Linked DNA regions of Homo sapiens: region 1 is linked to region 2. The links are contacts of gene promoters, found by promoter capture Hi-C in human tissues and cell types (Jung and others, 2019). All regions are on one chromosome and are shown on one strand. Each heading gives the region's core, a stretch centred on a gene start or on the middle of the fragment in contact. The rest is flanking DNA. Distances are from core to core; before and after follow the strand shown.

The links. Contacts are between HindIII fragments. The study calls those that stand out against the background at their distance.
Region 1: a fragment that was not itself captured here is called in contact with the fragment with the promoter of TWIST2 in region 2 in 1 of the 25 tissues and cell types used here (IMR-90 fibroblasts).

Annotation. Positions count from the first base shown.
Region 1 is chr2:238,515,392-238,520,096 of GRCh38, forward strand. The region is part of intron 2 of LINC01107 (long intergenic non-protein coding RNA 1107); the gene reads right to left. Among named protein-coding and RNA genes, the nearest start is that of LINC01107, 38 kb to the right of the region's middle. RefSeq lists an enhancer at 2,240-3,439. The HindIII fragment of the contact is 3,538 bases long and covers 204-3,741 here.
Region 2 is chr2:238,846,790-238,851,775 of GRCh38, forward strand. It overlaps TWIST2 (twist family bHLH transcription factor 2), which reads left to right and starts at 1,296. Exons shown (of 2, transcript NM_001271893.4): 1 at 1,296-1,944. The coding sequence starts at 1,427. The coding sequence ends at 1,909. LOC100287387 (a long non-coding RNA gene) reads right to left here and starts at 1,118. Exons shown (of 1, transcript NR_157851.1): 1 at 1-1,118. RefSeq lists enhancers at 1-253, 1,787-2,296, 2,297-2,807. The HindIII fragment of the contact is 12,284 bases long and covers 1-4,986 here.

The DNA.
Region 1 (4,705 bases), core at 723-3,222, 330 kb before region 2:
TGTTTTTTATTTTATTGATATGATGTATTATATTCATTTATTTTCAGATGTTGAACCAAGCTTGCATTTCTGGGACAAATCCCACTTGGCCATGGGTGTATGTGTAACTCTTTTTATATGTTGCAGACTTAGTTTGCTAGTATGTTGCTGAGAATTTTTTTGTTTATATTCATATGAGATATTGGTCTGTAGTTTTCTTGTAATGTCTTTTCTGGTTTTGGCATCAGGGTAATAGTGACCTCATAAAATGAGTTAAGAAATGTTCCTGCGGTTTTTCTGTTTTTTGGAAGAGTCGTGAAGAATTCATATTAATTTTTTAAATGTTTGGCAGAATTCAGTGATAAAGCTTGGGTGGGCCTGGACTTTTCTTTCTGGGTAATTTTTGAATTACTAGTTCAATCTCTTCACTTGTTATAAGTCTATTCACATTGTCTTCTTGAGTCAGCTTCAGTAGTTTGTGTCTTTCTAGGGATTTGTCCATTTCATCTAAGTTATACAATTTGTTGGTGTATAATTGTTCATGGTGTTCCTTTACAACACTTTCTATTTCTTCAGGGTCCTTAGTTATGTCCCCATTTTCATTTCTGATTCTAGTCATTTGAGTCATTCCTCTTTTTTCTTAGTCAGTCTAGCTAAAGGTTGGTCAGTTTTGTTGACCTTTTCAAAGAACCAGCTTTTAGGTTTCATTGATTTTCTCCACTGGTTTTCTCTTCCCTGTTTCTCTTATTTCTGCTCTAATCTTTATTATTTCCTTCCTTCTGCTTGTTTTCAGTTGGGTTGGCTCTTATTTTTCTTATTTTCTTAGGGATTATCTACCACTGGGGTTTGCAAGTGGAACGTTAGATTATTTATTTCAGATCTTTGTTCTTTTGTGATCTAGCATTTATAGCTAGACATTTCCCTCTAAGCACTGCTTTAGTGGCATCCTGTAAGTTTTGGTATGTTGTGGTTTTGTTTCACTCAGTTCAAAGTATTTTCTAGTTTCCCTTGTGATTTTTTTCTTTGAACCATTGGTTATTTAGGAGTGCATTGTTTATTTTCTTCAGTTGGTTTCCTCCAGAGCATTGCAGCCTTTCCTGACTTCTGAGTGACTTTTTTCTTTTAAAAGATAAGAATGGCAGATTAAAGATGGCCACAACTTCTTTGACAGTCCTCTCTTCAAGAGTTGGGGTCTATGGTTCCCTTCCCTTGGAATTTAGACAGGCTCTATGACTGTTTTGATCAATGGAATGCAGGAGACTTGATACTGCATGACTTCTAAGGCTAGACTGAAGAAACTTTGGTGCTTTTACTTTGGTATCTTAGTGCTCACTTGAAAGGGGATGAGGGTAGGCAGCCATTATGTGAGAAGTCCAACTACCTTGAGGCCACAATTCTATGATGAACCCAAGCTAGCCATGTCAAGAAGCCACTTGGAGAGAGAGAGAGAGAGAGAGAGAGAGAGAGAGAGAGAGCGAGCTGTCCAGACCCTAGCTATTCCACCCATATCATCCCGGGTGCTAGGATCACTAGACCGGCAGTAAAAGAAGTCACCTTGGTAATTTCTGTCACATCAAAGCTCTTGCTTCATCTAAACATCCATCCAGAGCTACAGGACTGGGAGACTTGTCGGGAAAGAACTGCATTGTTGGAGGTTCAGGAAGGACTGATGTAAACCAGTAAATTGTTTCCCCAGAATCCTGCAGGATTTCATGGAATTAAATACCCTCACAGACTCAGAAGGTTCAAATGGAAACATAAACAGTTCATCATACATACTTGATGGGATAATGGTTAGCTTCTTTTAAAAATGCACCAAATCTACATAAGTTACTGAGAATCCCCAGAGGATGCCATGTCAAGAAGAATCAAGGCCCACACATGTGACACGACTTGAGCTGTCCCTGCTATCTCCTATTTCAGCAGAATGAGTCTGCCAACATGGTAGGGCAGAGACAAGCTTTCCTCTCTGTGCCTGCCCTGACTCCTGACCTGTAGAATTGTGAGCATAAATAAAATGGCTTTTATATTGCTAAGTTTTAAGATGGTTTGTTACCCAGCAAATAGAAACTGGAACAGTGTATTTGTCCCATTTATATTTATTGTTATAATTACCAATTGACTTCAATTTCAGGTGCTTCAGTTTCTTCATGTGTAAAATGGAAATAAGACTATTAATTCAATTTAAGGATTAGGTAAGATTATGTACAGTACTTGCATATATATTTATATGATTTATATAAACATTTATATAAATATGTGCTTTATGTATATAAATAAACATATATACATATATAAGGTACTTAAAAAGTTAGATGAAAAAGATATCTACATGTCTAAATTTTTACATGTTTTCTTTCATTGACTTGAGAATATGAGAACAGTTTTTGTCTCCACTTTAATTTCTTGCCATGTTCTGAAGTGCTCTCTTTATCTGCTTTTTTACTTTGCTGTATTTTCATTTTGAAGTTTTGTATAGCTTAAGGTGCTGGAATTCTTTTATTTACTCATCTTGGAGTGACGGGAGTTTCATATGGGTTTTCCATTTGCCCCAAACTAGAGAGAGCAAAAGTCCTTGTCCTGTATGCCTGGGCCCCGCGGCTCCTTTTAGTCCGGACTTCGTTCTCTGTGCACCCCCACAGCGGGTTTGCTCTAGGGTGTCTGTCATGAGCTGGTGGTTTTTGGTGATTTCAGCATCCTTGAACTTTTCTTTATTTTTGGTAGTAGTGGGTAAGAGGGAGTATGTTCTGTGGTGCGATTTGTGTAAGAATGTATGACATGTTGGTAAGTGTGCAGCATTATGCCATTTTTCTTTCTTTCTTTCGCCATCCAGGGTGAAACAAAACCCTGCCTCAGCCCTGGAATTTACCGGAGCTCGTTTATGGGAAATCTCCTTGGTCCCTTCAAGGGGCAGCTGTGTCTGTTGGCTCAAGCGACAGCACTTCTCTCACATCAAAGCTCTTGCTTCATCTAAGCGTCCGCCCTGCTACGGGGGTGGGAGGCTCATCGGGAAAGAATTCTCGTTTTGTCAGAGGTTTGGGAAGGACTGACGTGAATCAATAGACTGTTTCCTCAGAATCCTGCAGGATTTCAGTGGTTTCCACAGAATTAAATACCATCTTAGACTCAGGGGGTTTAAATGGAAACATACACACTTCGTCCGATGTACTTGATGGGATAATGGTTAGCTCCTTTTAAAAACGCACCAAACCTACAGAAGCTACTGAGAATCCAGCAGGGGTCATCTCAGTTCCTGGAGAGGAGAGGTGGGAAGCTTGTTTTAATTAGACTTGGACTTGCTGTCATACACATGTCTGCATCTGATTTTCACTCTGAGCACTTCCGCCTCCCCAGGCAAACGGAGGGTCGGAACGCTTGATGTGAGAACACATTTCACGCACACGCTGGTGTATTTACTTACACAGACACGCACTGCACACACATGCAGACCTACATGCTTTCCTGGGCTCGTCATGTGGGGGGCACATTGCAGCTCCTCCTCCCACTCTGCTCTTTGTGGAGAGCTGGGTCGTCTTGCTATTTATTTTTACACAGAGGAATTCATCAATCAAACATCCAACTTTGAGATCCGGCCTATCAGGAACTATTCCTGCAATGCCAACTCAGCGCTTTCATCTCCACCCTTGGCCTCGTTGTGCTATTTGGACAAAGATCCTGTAGCCTTTCTTATCCAGAGGGAGCAAAGGAGAAGTTGGGGTGTTCTTACCGTCCTGTGGAGACCCTGCTGCTCAGGGGTTGGATCTGCTCTCTGGAGGTGCCCCCTCACCCCCCTCCCACCCAGGGACTCTGCACCGGCCGTGGTGGTTGGGCCACTAAACCTGGAGGTTCTTGGGGATTATCTACCACTGGAGTCTGTGTTCAGTTTTCAGTGCTGGGTCCCTGGTGATCTGTTGGAGATCACAGAGCCCCTCCCTGGAGGTTTGTGCACACACCTCCTCACACGTGCGTGCACACGCTACTTCTGGTACATGGGCAGTGCTGGTCTGGCCTTGCTGTTAAAGGCCGAGAAGCCAAGGCCCAGGGTGGGTATGTCAGTCTGTTGGTGCTTAGTGATGTGGCCTGGACTGGAAGCCAGCTGGCCAGGCACCTGTATACCCTGCCTTTTGCATGCTGGGGCCGCTGTCTCTTAGCCCTGGCTTTCCTTCTTACCTTGAATGAGTCTTTCCTTGCTGCCATTTCAAGAGGCCTGGCTTGGCACCCAGTGAGGGTTGGCTGGGCCCCTGGCAAAAGCTTGTGGGGAGGCTTTACTCAGGCCAGGTTTGACCGGTCCCAGGGGTCCCACCCACCCCACCTCACAGAACTCTCACTCACCTGTGACCCTGCCGTCTGGGGGCCCAGCCACCGGCAACCCTGGGCCACAGAGGCGACCCCAGCAGCAGGCACTGCTCTCCCTGTGGTCCTCCTCCTTGGAACCTGCCCTCCCTCAGTGGAATTCACAGGGATATACACATTTTTAGGCTCTTCTTGGGGGTGAGGCTGTGTACCAGGTAGTCATATGGCCTCCTTTAATTCTCAACATAACCATTTGGGGAAACTCAGGCTCAGACAAGCTAAATGACATGGCCAAGTTGATACAAGTCTAAATAATATAGCCAGGCCTGGAGCTCCAGCACACTTGCTCCCCCTTCTCTATTCTGTGTTTGAAAAGACACAAAGCAGGGACTTTGTGTCACACCGCCCTGCACCCTGATCACAGGGGGAGAAG
Region 2 (4,986 bases), core at 46-2,545:
GAGCAGCGGAGGCCGAGCACTCCCCGGTCTCGGGTTCAACTTCAATAAAAGGGCCCAGCCCGCCCTTGATCACGCGGCTTGCCTGACAGCCCGGCTCAGGCCCGGGCCTAATTGAGCCCGGGTCACCTGGGAATAGGTTCAAAGGCATCAAAGCCGTAAAAACCACCTCCAGGCCCAGAGCCAGAGCGGCCTGGCGAACAAAGAGCCCCCCAACCACTTCAAACGCGCTCGCGCTCGCCGTCCAGATGGCCCGGGGCCGGGGTCCGTGGTGTCGCTCACCGAGGCCGGGCCCCACACTCCAGCCACCCTGAGCCTCCTGCTCGGAGCTGCCCGCGGGCTGCCAGCGCAGCGGAGGCTGGGCCCGGGGCAGCCTCGTGCAGCTCCCGGAGCGCCCTCCGTCCTCTGCTGACCCGCGAAGCGAAGGCGGAGCGCAGAGGCTGGGGCCGTACAAGGCGGGCCGGCAGGCGCCCCAACCCGCGCCCAGCAACCCGGGTAGGGCCAGGCAGGCGGGCGCGGCGGGTACCGGGCGCTCCCGCAGAGGCTCGCTGTGGCGTTGTTTTAAAGCTGTTAGAAGGAAGGTTCGGGAAGGGCGTCGGGGCCGGGGCTCCCCAGCAAGCCAGGGTAAGAAATGGTCCCCGACACGCACGCTGGCCGAAGGGTGGCATCTCCACGGATCTTGGCGGCATGTCCTTGGGCACGGGCGTCTCCAGGGGGCCCCGACTGTCCTTACACTGGCGGTCCGGACACCGAGACCCCTGCCCGCGCAGCTCCCCAGACCCCAGGCCTAAGCTTGCGGGCCGCGGTGCAGACTAGCTGTGCGCCCGGGGGCGGCCAAGACCCACACAGGTCGAGGAGGCTCCTGGCTGCGTCCTCATCTTCTGGGAGCGCATCTGGGACTGGACTCGCCTCTCTAGCCCCTCACGCCCAGAGAGAGAACCCCCCAAAGCCCAGTGGGGGCCGATCTCTACGTTGAGGCGTAGACAAAGCCAGGCTTGGCCGGGCCTAGGGCTCGGGGCGGCCTGAGAGTGCCCTGCGTTCGGGGTGGGGGCGCGGGCGGCGGGCGAGGACCCGGCCCCCGGGATGCCCTCCGCGCCGGGGCCGAAGGGGGAGGCAAAACTGAAAGTGCCGCGCCGGGGGGCGGGGGCGGCCGGCGAAGGCCCCAGAACTTGTCCTGCCCCCGGCCACCGCGGCCAATCAGCGCGCCGCCCTAGCTCCTGACAACTATTTAGCAACCCAGCCCAGCTAGAGTTTCCAAAAAAGTTAGAATAACTTCCTCTCCCGGAGACCTCGGTTTTGCACAAGCCGGCCTTGAAATCAGAGCCTTTCCAGCAACTCCGAGAGCGTGTGCTCGGCGACCGCGGGCTTGGCCAGCGGCGCGCGCTCGGCGCCCCGGCGCCCCCAGCCCCACGCGCGCCGGGCGGGCGCCATGGAGGAGGGCTCCAGCTCGCCCGTGTCCCCCGTGGACAGCCTGGGCACCAGCGAGGAGGAGCTCGAGAGGCAGCCCAAGCGCTTCGGCCGGAAGCGGCGCTACAGCAAGAAGTCGAGCGAAGATGGCAGCCCGACCCCGGGCAAGCGCGGCAAGAAGGGCAGCCCCAGCGCGCAGTCCTTCGAGGAGCTGCAGAGCCAGCGCATCCTGGCCAACGTGCGCGAGCGCCAGCGCACCCAGTCGCTCAACGAGGCCTTCGCGGCGCTGCGCAAGATCATCCCCACGCTGCCCTCTGACAAGCTGAGCAAGATCCAGACGCTCAAGCTGGCCGCCAGGTACATAGACTTCCTCTACCAGGTCCTGCAGAGCGACGAGATGGACAATAAGATGACCAGCTGCAGCTACGTGGCCCACGAGCGCCTCAGCTACGCCTTCTCCGTGTGGCGCATGGAGGGCGCGTGGTCCATGTCCGCCTCCCACTAGCGCCGCGCCACCCACCTCCGGACCGGCGCGCCAGGGTAGGTGCTGCGCGCGCGACGGGCGCCCTCCGCTGCGGGGGGCGGGCGGCAGGGGCGCAGGGGCATTGGGGCCTGCTCGTGTCTCCTCGGCGAGGCCCCGCGGGCCGCGGGGGCTTGGATGCCGTGCGCTTTTCCTCTTAGCAAGGAAGGCGGGCGGGCGGGACGCTCACAGTCCCAGGGACACCCCTGAGTGCAGACTTCCACGCGAGGGTGTCAGTTGGGAACCGGCGGACCGGTGACTCCCCCGGCGGGTTCTGAAGATACTTAGACAGATGGTCGCAGTTTTCATTCTCGGTGGTGTGTGGGTGTCCGTGGTTGGCGGTGGAAGGAGCGAGCATCAGAAAAACCTCCTGGGGCCGGCTGGGGACTGGGATATGAGGACCAGCTGCCCTTTGCGTCCGCCGCAGCGCAGGCCGCCCGCGAAGCTGCCCGAGCCGGGTGTTGCCGGGCGAATGGCTTCGCTTTCTTCCTGGGCAAGGGTAGAGCGCGTCCGTCGGGCGGACACTCAGATCTACCCAGCTGCTCGCGCCTGGGGTCCCCGGCCGTCGGCGCCCTGGCCTGCCCAGTGGGCGTAGAGGTGCGGGCCTGCGGCTCCAGGGTTTGCCTGGGGAGGACGGGAGGAAACTGCCCTGCGCTTCGGGGCCAGAGCAGCCACAGGGCCGGGTGTGCCCGAGAAGGGCCCTGGGCCGAGAGCGCAGAGCCTGGAGCGCTGAGGCAGGCGGGTCCGACGCAGCCGCGCGGAGCCCCAGGGCGCCCGCAGGCAGGTGGAGCTGACCTAGGAACTGGGAGCCCTGAGTCCCAACCTTGACCCTGGAGTACCCGGGAGGGGCCCCGCCCATCCAGCCCCGCAGGGATGGGCGAGGGGTCCAGGCTGGGAAACGGGTCTGGGGGACAGGGAGGCTGTGCGCGCCGGGCCCTGCGCGAGGAGAAGGCTCGGGGGACACAGCTGCCAGGAGCACTCCAAGTTCTGGTTTCCTCTGGAAGAGCGATTAGGGCGTCCTGCACCGGGTCCTTTTCACCAGACACCTTCCAAGTCCCTTTAGACAAGCTCGAGCCACGGAGGCGCCGTCCTTAGGCTCTGTGAGCAGGCGAGCCCCTCTCTCATCCGCCATCCAGGGCCATGGAGGGGCACAGAGTTCTTTTTGCTGGGGCCGAGTTAAAAATCCTTCCCCCTTAGTATGTTTTAGTTCCTCGCACATCTTGCGATGTTTTTATAAAAGACTCTACTTCACACAGAAGGAATTTAGATTAATCAAGAGCACCCGGCCGCCTATTCTCCCAAACATATCTATTTCTTTTTTTATGTGGTTCTATAATATCTGCGAATGTTGTTGCTGAGGCCACGAAAAGCTGATCCAGCACAGGTGGGTTTTATTTCATTTTTTTAGCTTTTATTTTGGTGTCACTGAAAATTCTGTAGCTGCAGAGCCTCCTGAGATAATGATAATTGTATAGTTTTTAAAAAATAATTTTCAGCAGAAAATAACTTGTGGGAATCTTCTCCTGTCTTTGTCAAAAACAGATGGAAAGTGTCTCAATCACATATTTCTCTAGGAAAGTTTGGATTGGCTGAGTACTAAACGCTACAGTGGGGTAATACATTAATTCTGGTTTTTGCTGCCTAAATAATGAGCTTCCATTAGTTACTTCCATTTATGCTTTACCTCATTCATGGTTTATAGCACATCTGAAATAAGAACAAACAGATGAGGAATGTCATCTTTTTAAAAACACACACATTGAGCCGTGTTTAAGGAAAATGTCACTTTAATTATCGTTAAGACTGCCCTCCAGAAAATTACTGAAAACAAATACCAGTAGATATGATGCTGCTAGAATTTAGTAGGAACATTTAAAATTCATTTAAAAATAATCGCACTCCTCAAAACTTAGAGAATCAGCCATAGGTAACCATTAAAGATTATAGAAAAATAAAATGCAATACATGTAATAAATAAATAAAAACAGTGCCAAGAGCTTGTTTGGAAAAAAGCCCTTGAAAATATAATAGATAATTACACAGTTAGTGGGAGAGCTGATGATCTATAAGGAGCCTATTTATTTTTATTTTTACATACTGGACTATAACTGAGTAGTTCAAACAAGCTAGTTTCATTAAATAGATACTCTAAAAGAAGAGAAAAGAAATATGGAAAAATTTTATCCATGAATGATTCTGGACACACCTTGTTTTTATTTATCAGGCACGTTAGGCAGACATCTTGTCATTCTTTTTGTCTTTAACTCATTATTCCCTATAAGATCAATACGATTATAATTGGTTTGATTTCCTGAAAATGTTGCTAAACAGCATTTGTTTTTATTTGTAGCATTTCTAAGAAGCATTAATTATATGCATCAGCAAAGAATCTCTAGACATTTCAGTACATTGTAAGTGATTTTAATGTTTGATGTGGGATGTTTTCACGTATGTGAAGAAAACTGTCAAGACTAACAGCAACAGCAGCACAAAGCCTAAATTGTCCTCTGAAAGGAAGAGAAACGCAAGAGATGGTGGAGTGCGGGTGCTGCCGATATCTATCCTGCCTTTCTTCTTTGGCCTGGTATTTAAAAGCACAATTAGACAATAAATCAGGTGTCTTTGTCCAGTCAGTTGGATTCATCTAATAGAAAAATCTCAAAAGGATTTTTTTAGTATTCTCATTAAATGCCTGAGTCTTCGGAGCAGGGTCCCAGACACCTGGCTTGGAGGGTGGGGGAAGGTGACCATTACTTATCAGACATTTGTCCTGTTCCCTGCTGTGTGGTTAAAGAAAACATCTTCTCTAACTTCTGCATAGTGTGCACAGATTTTCAGTAGATTTCCTCACTCAACAAACTTTTTTTTTTCTGAGAACTTTTAGCTACTTTGAAGAAATTGCATGACCCCTTCACCATCTAATATATGTGAGCCTTTTCCTCCCTCCTGAAAATTTACTTCTCATAGGTGTTTGTTAACTGCTGTATTCAGGATGCTAGAAAATCAGTTCTTCGTGGAGAAGAACAGAAATGCAGAATCCCAATGGAGCTTTTGCTTGCCTA